2 separate regions of the Homo sapiens genome follow, and region 1 is linked to region 2. The links are contacts of gene promoters, found by promoter capture Hi-C in human tissues and cell types (Jung and others, 2019). All regions are on one chromosome and are shown on one strand. The core of a region is centred on a gene start or on the middle of the fragment in contact, and the rest is flanking DNA. Distances in the headings are between cores, read along the strand shown.

What was found. The method cuts DNA at HindIII sites, captures the fragments that hold promoters and counts their contacts. A contact is called where the count stands out against the background at its distance.
Region 1: the fragment with the promoter of NBL1 here is called in contact with a fragment that was not itself captured in region 2 in 1 of the 25 tissues and cell types used here (mesenchymal stem cells).

What each region holds. Positions count from the first base shown.
Region 1 is chr1:19,640,551-19,645,632 of GRCh38, forward strand. It overlaps NBL1 (NBL1, DAN family BMP antagonist), which reads left to right and starts at 3,761. Exons shown (of 4, transcript NM_005380.8): 1 at 3,761-3,896. All of the region lies in intron 1 of MICOS10-NBL1 (MICOS10-NBL1 readthrough), which reads left to right. RefSeq lists an enhancer at 2,773-3,608 and a silencer at 3,507-3,846. The HindIII fragment of the contact is 7,978 bases long and covers 1-4,740 here.
Region 2 is chr1:19,197,993-19,203,080 of GRCh38, forward strand. It overlaps UBR4 (ubiquitin protein ligase E3 component n-recognin 4), which reads right to left. Exons shown (of 106, transcript NM_020765.3): 2 at 3,726-3,823; 3 at 1,659-1,762; 4 at 807-936; 5 at 549-688; 6 at 1-57. Among named protein-coding and RNA genes, the nearest start is that of UBR4, 9.7 kb to the right of the region's middle. RefSeq lists an enhancer at 4,345-4,846. The HindIII fragment of the contact is 5,188 bases long and covers 508-5,088 here.

The DNA.
Region 1 (5,082 bases), core at 2,511-5,010, 440 kb after region 2:
GGCCTTTTGCTTGTTTTCATTCTATTTCTCCAGCGAGAGTGCAGAGGTTTGGACCCCCGTTGAGGCCAGACTGACAGGATTAGAGGAAACAGCTGGGCTGAGTCCGTGCCCTGCAGGAGGGAGCTCACATTCCCGGACTCTGGGAGAGAGCAGCTCCCCACAGCTCAGTCACATTCCAGGTCGGTCATTTTCCTGAGCCCAGATGTTTGCTAATGAGCTGGGGAGAGGGGCTTTTAGCCCTGAGCCCCAGCTCTGGGCCCCACATTACCTCGGCCCCAAGAGGCTGGCCCAGGGCCAGGAGGCTCTGGCCTCAGGCCCATGCCCTGTGCCAGCCAGGCCTGTAGGGGCAGCTGGAACACCACTGCCAACCAGGTGCATCTGCTCGAGCTGGGACACTCTGACGTGACAGGTTCTGCCTTTCCCGCTGGGGCCCCTGGGGTCCATCTTCAGTGCAGCATCCCTGCTGCAGCCTGATGGGGAGGAGCACTGAGGCAGCCGAGAGGGTGGAGAGGGTGTGGTGGGCAAGGAAGCATGGACTTTGGTGTTGACAGGTCTGGGCTCAAGTCCAGGCTTTGTTAATCACTAGCAATGTGGTCTTGAGCAGGTAATGACACATTTTGGTGCCTCGATTTTTCTTACCTGTAAAATGGGAACAATGATGGGACTGTGGTAAGGATTAGAGGAGATGAAGCAGACAGAGTGACCAGCATAATGCCTGGCACAAAATGGGTAGATATTACTACCAAGTTACTTCCCAGGCCCCCTGCCCACACTGTAGCTTTCCCGTCACCAGACAGATGGTGACTCAACTCCAAACCCTTTGTCCCTGATTAGGGGGTTGGTGTTGTTCTTGAACCTCCCGGTGTTTGAGAGATGGTGGGCTGCCCTGTCAAGGGCACTGGCTGGAAGTTGTGGCTTCTACTCCTGGCTCTATGTGTGATCTGACCAGCTCATCAGGCTCCACAATTAGCTTTCTGCAATGTGGGAGTGGATTCTTACAAAATGTAGAACTCTACTTTCTACCCTGCTCGGGGTCTGCATGAAAGATGGCGGGGGTAAGCTTTGGCTGCAAAATGGTAAATATTTCCTGAGTGTCTACTGTGTACAGTGCAGTGAGGCTGGTTTCTGCCGTACATGGTATATAGTTATCCAACAGACACTAGCTGGCATGGGCTCTTACTGTGTGACTTTAGGCGAGTTACTTAACCTTTCTCTTGACGTTCCTTTTTTCACTTTTTTTTTTTTTTTTTGAGACAAGGCCTTGCTGGAGTGACAAGCTCATTAGGTTCCACAATTAGCCTTCTGCAATGTTGTCCAGGCTGGAGTACAGTGGCACAATCATAGCTCACTGCAGCCTCAAACTCCTGGGATCAAGTGATCCTCCAGCCTCGGGATTTTTTTCACTTTTATTATTTTATTTGTTTGTTTGTTTATTTATTTATTTATTTGAGATGGAGTCTCACTCTGCCTCCCAGGCTGGAGTGCAGTGGTGCGATCTCGGCTCACTGCAACCTCCGCCTCTCAGGTTCAAGTGATTCTCCTGCCTCAGCCTCCCGAGTAGCTGGGACTACAGGCACACGCCACCACACCTGGCTGATTTTTGTATTTTTAGTAGAGAGAGGGTTTCGCCATATTGGCCAGGCTGGTCTCGAACTCCTGACCTCAAGTGATCCTCCTGCCTTGGCCTCCCAAAGTGCTGGGATTACAAGCATGAGCCACTGCGCCTGGCACTTTTAAAACAGAGACAATACTTACCTCATAGGTTTATTGTGAGAGTGGCAACAGCTTGCAATGGGATGAGGCACATGGTAAGGTGCTCAATATGTGTGAACTATTATAACGGTCATAGTTACCATTAAGGGAAGACCTATCTGTGCTACATTAATGGGGGATAATAATTACTTTATTCGCTGGGCGTGGTGGTTCATGCCTATAATCCCAACACTTTGGGAGGCTGAGGCGGGAGGATCACTTGAGGCCAGGAGTTGGAGACCAGCCTGGGCAACATGGCAAAACCCCATCTCTACTAAAAATACAAAAACTAGCTGGGCGTGGTGGTGGGCGTCTGTAATCCCAGCTACTCGGGAGGCTGAGAATTGCTGGAACCTGGGAGGCAGAGGTTGCAGTGAGCCGAGATCACGCCATTGCATTTCAGCCAGGGCAACAAGAGCAAAATTCTGTCTCTAATAATAATAATAATAACAACAACAACAACAACAACAACAACTTCATTCAACCAAATACATTGTACATCTCACCTGGCCTGCCCATAAGCAATGGAGACACTGAAATAAACACGATTCCTGCCCTCAAGGTCTAATGGAGGAAAGAGATGTACACAGCTATTCTAGAGGGAAATTGACATGAACAGAAGTTCTCATCCTGTGCTCCAGGATCACACTGGAGGAGGGAGATGCTCCCAGAGGGTCTTGGGAAGGCTTTCCAATCTGGAGCTGGAAGAATGTTTGCCCAAGAGATGTACACAGTTATTCTAGAGGGAAATTGACATGAACAGAAGTTCTCATCCTGTGCTCCAGGATCACACTGGAGGAGGGAGATGCTCCCAAAGGGTCTTGGGAAGGCTTTCCAATCTGGAGCTGGAAGAATGTTTGCCAGAGATGAAAGGAGGGGAAGGGAATTCCGGGCAGAGGGAAGGGCGCAGGCAACAGCTAGGAGGCGCAGATGCAGGCTGGGTGTGGAGGGTGCGAGTAGGCTGGAGTACACCAGGGAGTTCCCAGCAGGCCACTAGGAGCCACCCAGGATGCCCGGCAACCTCATGAGTCAGACAAGCAGGGCTGTGTCTATCTGGAAGTTTCCAGCCAAGCTAGGTAAAACACATGGACACAGGTAACTATGCTGTAAAGCAAAATCCCCAAGTCCTACAATCGTGTCCCAGTGGTGTCCCTGGGCCACCACTTTCCAGAAGCAAAGTTATTTTCTCACCCCGTTGTTAAGCACACAGAATAGAGAAGGTACGGCCGCAATCCACCCAAGTGCCCACTGATTAGATAGGAACCCCCGAGGTGAGGCTGGAAGCTGGGGCCAGGAGCTCCACTCTTCCCAGGAGTCAGAGAAGTGAGTTCATTTGCTGGCTTTTTAGTTCCTAATAAGTCCCTGGGGCTTTTCGGGATGCTTAAGCCAAGGGCGTGGGGCCGAGAGCGACACTAGGATAACACTAGGCAAGGCTGAGCAACCCAGGCTACCAACAGCACGGACTTGAACCGGGTCGCATGCCGGAGCGGACGGGATGAGGTGCACCGCAGAACTGGGGACTCCTGGTGCCGGGACGCGGCGGGCTGGGGCGCCCCACTCTCGGGGCAAGTCTGCAATGCCCGGTGCCCACAAAAAGGACACATCCATCTTTGTCACCCCGAGGCCTGGCACGGCCTGACGGCCCAGGCTCGGTAAAAGTCGGGCGGAGAGAGTGGAAGCGCAGAGAAACCCGGGGAGGGCGCTTAAGAACGGGCCAGGGCGCCCGGCTGGGCTGCCCTGCCTCTCGGGCGCCGGCCAGGCGTCCCGGCCGCCCCACCACGCCGTCGGAGCGCGCCGAAGCTCAGCCCGGGGCGGGCGGGCCAGGAGAGGGCCCGGGGCCCCTGCCGCCGCGGCGCCCCCTCCTGCGCACCCGGAGGGAGAGGCCGCGCGCGCCCGCCCGCTCTTTCTGCGCGCGGCCCTCCCCGCTGCCCCCGCCCTCGCGCCCTGTTTGGAGGGAGCCACCCTGACGTCGGAGCCGCTCCCCCGCGCCGCGCGCCCGCCCGGGGCCGCAGACAGCGCGCAGCGCAGCCCAGCCGAGCGTCGCGGGGCCGCCCCCCGCCCTGCCGGCCGCCTCGCCGAGCCTCCTGGGGCGCCCGGGCCCGCGACCCCCGCACCCAGCTCCGCAGGACCGGCGGGCGCGCGCGGTAAGTCCCGCCCGGGTCGGCACGCGGGCGCCCGGCTTCCAGAGGCTTCGGCCGCGGGGGCAGTGCCGCGCCCCCAGCCCGGAGCTGCGTCCCCCGGCGCGTCCGGCGGCCGCGGGCACCGGGTGGAGGCGCCGCCGCCGAGCTCAGGAGCCCTGGGGGACCTGGCGGGCGCCTCCGGACGCCGGCGCTGGGGACGTGGGCGCGGCACGGGGTGGCCGGGGGGCACCGCCGCGTCCGGAGCCCGTCCCCAGACTCGCCCCAGGGTTCCGTTTCTGGATCGGAGTTTCCGCGGCCGGGGGAGAGAGGGAGCGAGGGAGGGAGATGCGTGGCCGGGCGGGCCGGGCTCGCATGTCCCCCGGCCGTGCCCGGGCCTCGCCGCGCCGCGCCTCTCGGCTCTGGACGTTTCCGCCTCCCGCGGCCCCCTCTGCTTCGGTCCCCACGTCCGTGTGTCTGTCTCTCCGTCGCTCCGTTTCCGCCGCTCACTTTCCCCTGGTCTGCCCGTCTCTTTCCGTTCCCCGCCTGCCTCCGTGTTCGGCTGCCCGCGTTTGTGTCTCTGCCTCTGGCTTTTCTCTCCCTCTCTCTGTCTCTGCGCTGCCCTCTGTGGGGGTCTCGCCCTGTGTCTGCGCCTCTCCCTGATCCCCCGCCCTCCGATCCAGACAATCCCCCAGTGTCGGAGGCTCGCCTTCCCCCAGCGGGGTTCACGAATAGTTTCCTAGACCGGGTGCGGCAAACCCTCCCCCTGCCTCCCGCCGGCCCCGAGGCCTGGCCCGGGTCATCTCCCTGGAATTGAGTCTGGGGCAGGGAGAGCCAGCCTTTCCGGGGGCTCAGTTTTCTTAAGAATTCCACCCCCGCGAGGCCGGCTGGACGACAGGCCCTGCTGCGGGCCACCTGCCCGGCCCGCTCCCAGGGCGGGGCGATTCTGATCGTTTACAAGCGGCGGCAAAGGGGGCAGCCGCCTGCCTTGGCGTGGCCGGAGGTTGGCGGGCATCAAGGGAGAAAGCCACACTTCCAGGCTTTCGGAGGCCCTCGCTCCCCAAGCTGGACGCCACCAGCCTGTAACTAGGGGCACCCCAGGAAAACAGAGGTCAGGGCTGGAGGCCAAAGACCGGGCGCTGGCGGGGAAGCAATTTGTCAACAAGGAGCCCCTCACCCTTTGTTACTGCGGAATGGGGCCTCCCTAGACTCC
Region 2 (5,088 bases), core at 1,852-4,351:
GGTTTTGATAGCTGAGGCTTGATCTGTAGATGACTGCTCATCATTTTCTCCTTCCACCTGAAAAGAAACATAAGGCCTGTCAAGATACTATTATCTCTTCACCAAACCAACTGTCAAAAGTGAGCAGTAGCTGCACGGATACTCTCCAGACTCCCCAGTTAGTGAAGGGAAAATTCCTTACTCATGTTGGAGAAAATACAGGTTACATTTTCAGGAGGAGGGAAAAAATATACAGCTTTAAAATATATATATGTTCTATAACCAAAATGGAGTGATGCCTTTATATAGAAAACTGTACATACACCTTACATTTGTTAATTTGCATTGAGAGAAGCCTAGAATGGTCGTCAAAACAGTAATAACCGTGGACAGAAGAAGGAGTTGGGGTGAATTTTACTTGTTTTATTTTGTATTCCTCAATTTCTTTTGTCCCACAGACATGTATATCATTTTATATCACAAACATAAAATACATCACTTTTTCTCCCCTAGTGTTATCATCTTAACAAAACCCACAGAGAAGAAGACATTTGACTAAAGAAACTCACCAGAGTCTGTGTACTGATAGGTTGTGATGCTACAGTTCTAGGGTTAAAAACTGAGGTCAGCTGGTTCAAAAAATTCATCTGTACCTCCTTTTGCCTCAACTCAGGGCTTACTGGTGAGGCCAGCTCTTTCTGATCTTCCACTGTAAAATACAAAGGCAAAAAAAAGGGCTGAGGAAAGTGCCACTAGAAGGCAAAGGTGCCATGGAAAAGGTGCCATGGGGGTGGTCATGTGATCAGATCTGTCAAAGGAACACCCACCGTCTGAAAGTGTCTTCACTGTTTGGGGCAGCTTGGCGGATTTCATCATTGCTGTAAATGTGATAATTTCAGTTCTATCTAGTCGGCTACAGCCAGTGCACAGGCCCTTGATTAGGAGAATCAAGTGTTTCTGAAAAGAAAACAAATGCAAACAAAAGAAAACAAAAACAAATAGATCTTTCAGAAAATTCTACTCTTTTGGAAATTCTAACTGGCACAGGGCCAAATTTAGGTTCATATAAACACTAAAGCAAAGACTGCAAGCTGATGTCCTTAGACCGTATGTAGCTTATAGATTTGTCTTATTGTTCTCACAATATTTTTTTAAAATTTGAAGGGAATGAAAAGATTCACATGCAAATCTGAAATTCTCACGCTCAAATAATTCACAGTATAGCAACCTTGCACCTCCATTCCTGCATGGCAGTAATAACCCAGAGCCAAATAGTGGTTAGCCCCTTTAGTTGGGACCTGCAATCTTCTCAACTAGCACACTTTACTCATTTTCTGTTACCTACCTGGCCCCTGCAGGTATGTAAGTTTGCAATCCTTGAGAAGACTCTGTAGCCCCATGTACCAGAGGTTGGCAAACTACAGCTCCAATTCAAACACTGCCTGTTTTTGTAAATAAAGTTTACTGGAACACAGCCATGTTCATCATTTATATATTAATCTATGGCTGCTTTCACACTAAAAAGGCATAGTTAACTAGCTGCAACAGATAACATACAGCCTGCAAATGATTTCCTATCTGGCCTATTACAGAAAAAGTTCACTGACCTCTACTCTATTCCACTAGTCAGTCACAACACTGCTTCAGAATAGGGCAAGAAATGGGCCCATCACTCTCACCTGGGACACAGCACAAGCCTCATCTGGATTCTCCAGACGCAGGAGAGAAAACTCAATTAGAACTTTACAGGCTGCTGCCACTGACTGAAGTTGGTTCCGGGGAACTGAGAAAGTAATAAACATTACTCAATTTCAGACTGCTCAGCGTTGGTCAATAAATTAAGCAAAGTAAGTATTGAGCTCTATGTCCAACATTCCCAATATCGTAACAATTATTCAGAGCCAAAAACCCAAGGGGTAAACAAAGGCATTTTGACATCAATAACTACCAGATCAATTTATCTCATATTTACTAGAAATCAGGATAACTATAATAGGAAATACTTACATCACACCAGTGCCAAGCACTTCAAAGGTATTAACTCATTTAATTCTTAAACCAATTCTATGAGGCAGATATTCATATTATCCCTGTCCATTTTTAACAGCTGAGCTAACTAAATGACTTGACAAAAGTCACATAGCTAGGTTTAAATCCAGGCAGTCAGCCTCTAGAGTTCATGCTCTTAACCACTAAACCAGGAGTGTGCAATCTTTTGGCTTCCCTGGGCTACACTGGAAGAATTGTCTTAGGTCACACAAAAAATACACTAACAGTAACAATAGCTGATGAGCTTTAAAAAAAAAAAGGCAAAAAAAAAAATCTCATAATGTTTTAAGAAAGTTTATGAATTTGTGTTGGGCCAAATTCAAAGCCATCACATGGTCCTCAGGCTGTGGGTTGGACAAGCTTGCACTAGACAATACTACTATTGTAGTAGTATTCCCATGGATTCTAAAATGACGTCCTGGTCAGGCATAGTGGCTCACACCTATAATCCCAGCACTTCGGGAGGCTGAGGTGGGTGGATCACTTCGGGAGGCTGAGGCGGGTGGATCACTTCAGCCCAGGAGTTTGAGACCAGCTTGGGCCAGCATGGTCAAACCCCATCTCTACCAAAAATACAAAAATTAGTCTCATAACCCGATCTCAAAATAAATAAATAAATGGATAAAAATTTTAAGTATAACTTAAAAAAATAAAATGACTTCCTTACATAAAGTTTCTCCAAGCTAAAACTGATTCTTCTGCCAGTAGCCAGAGCTTATAATAAACAGTATTGGACACTGAAGGATTCCTCAGCAACTGGAAGAACTGTCTTGGGCCACACAAAAAATACACTAATTCTTCAATGTCCTTTCAGTTTACTTGCTTAGCAAACTGTTCAAATAAACAAATATGGGGACTCCTGCCTGTAATCCCAGCACTTTGGGAGGCTAAGCTGGGAGGACTGCTTGAGCCCAGGACTTCCAGACCAGCCTGGGCAACATAGAGAGACCCTGTCACTATAAAATATTAATTGGGCTTGGTGGCTTGTGCCTGTAGTCCCAGCTAGGACTGAGGAGGCTAAGGCAGGAGAATCACTAGAGCCCAGGAGTTCAAGGATGCAGTGAGCTATGATCACGCCACTGCACTCCAGCCTGGATGACAGAGCAAGACCCTGTCTCTAAAAAAGCAAATTTAAAATAATTAGAATTCTTCAGAACTATTTGAGTCAAGATTTTAGACAAATGTAAAAATTCAGAAATGTAAAATAGGGATTAGCCATTTTGGGGGTAGAAAAATGAAGAAAATGGAGAACTGAAGTTGAAATCCCTTCATATACCAGAGAACACAAAGGAGAATCCACATCCTCACCAAAACCAAATAAGGAATAGAGCCTTGAGTGGCTGCTAACTCCAGAGGTCAGTATCCACCACCGCCTTCCCCCCAGGGAAATTAACACACCAGTAATTACATGAGAAATCAATAAAATGCTTTGGATTAAGAAGGGAAAGGAGGTGGACTTAATACTTATAAAGCAGGTGTCCAAGCCAAGTAGTTTTAAAATTCCACTTGGTTAGCCTAGGTAAGGGAACCTCTGGAGCCTCATCCTAGCTGACAGTTGTCTCTACTCTTGGGTGAGCAGCTTAGGAGTGCTAAAACCTAGACTTCATTAACAACTTTTTCAGATACACTAACGAGAGGATAAACAATCCCCCTATTCACAAGCCCTCAGAAGGGAAGGACAAGAGTGGAATACTTACTGAGACTGCAAACTGTTGTAATATAGTGTGTGGAAAGTGCAACAAAAGATGAGTAGAATGGCTCGTACTGCTTCTCATGGTGCAGGATTTCTGATTCACTGTAAAAATAATAATAATTCAGCCAGCATCTGCTTAGCGCTTACTATGTGCCAGATACCCCTTTATGGATATTACATTATTTAATCCTTACTACCTGGTAGATAGTATCATCAACCTATTCCCCTTCAAGACTGGGAAAGATGAGACAGGTGGATCACCTGAGGTCAGGAGTTCAAGACCAGCTTGGCCAGTATGGTGAAAACCCGTCACCACTAAAAATACAAAAATCAGCTGGGCGTGGTGGCACGTGCCTATAGTCTCAGCTCCTCAGGAGGCTGAGGCAGGAGAATTGCTTGAACCTGGGAGGCAGAGGTTGCAGTGAGCCGATATTGAACCACTGCACTCCAGCCTGGGTGATAGAGCAAGACTTCATCTCAAAAAAAGATTGGGAAGGTGAAGCTTAGAGAATTAAAATTAAATATCTCATTCAAGGTCATCAGGCTAGGGAAGAAGCAGAGACTAACAAACAGAAAACATTTTCAAAGTCAAGCAGAACTAACGAAATGCAAGTAAAGACCTAACAGGATATCAATCTGTTCTATATTACTGACTGGCAAAGACCAACAGCTAATATGCCTTCATTATTGATAGCCAAAAAGGGGCAGACCAGAATACTCAATATACTGTTAGTGGGAATACAGACTAAAGTAACCAATTTTAGACCAAATAAGGCTGGCCTGTAATGCAGTAACTTAAAAGGAATCAACAACTCAAGATAAGAAGTCATATGATCAGTGCTAAAGTCCAAAATTCACTGGATAACAGAGTTATCCCCTACACCATCCCCCTGACTGTAGACTAAAGCGAGATCACAAAAGAGTCGGTGATTTTTTTTTTTAACCACATCCCTTATCCTTAGCTGGGGAAATGCCCTCTTCTGAAAAAATCTAGAGACCAACTAGGTTTAAAGGCTGGATACATTTAAAGTCATTGTATCAAATCAGGTGCTAATCCACAATTGATGAAACATGGGCCGGGCACGGTGGCTGGCCGGGTGTGGTGGCTCATGCCTGCAATTCCAGCACTTTGGGAGGTCCACGCAGGTGGATGACGAGATCAGGAGTTCAAGACCAGCCTGGCCAAGATGGTGAAACCCTGTCTCTACTAAAATTACAAAAATTAGCAGGTGGTGGCACGCGCCTGTAATCCCAGCTACTCAGAAGGCTGAGGTAGAGAATTGCTTGAACCCAGAAGGTAGAGGCTGCAGTGAGCCGAGATCGGGCCACTGCACTCCAGCCTGGGTGACAGCGAGACTCCGTCTCAG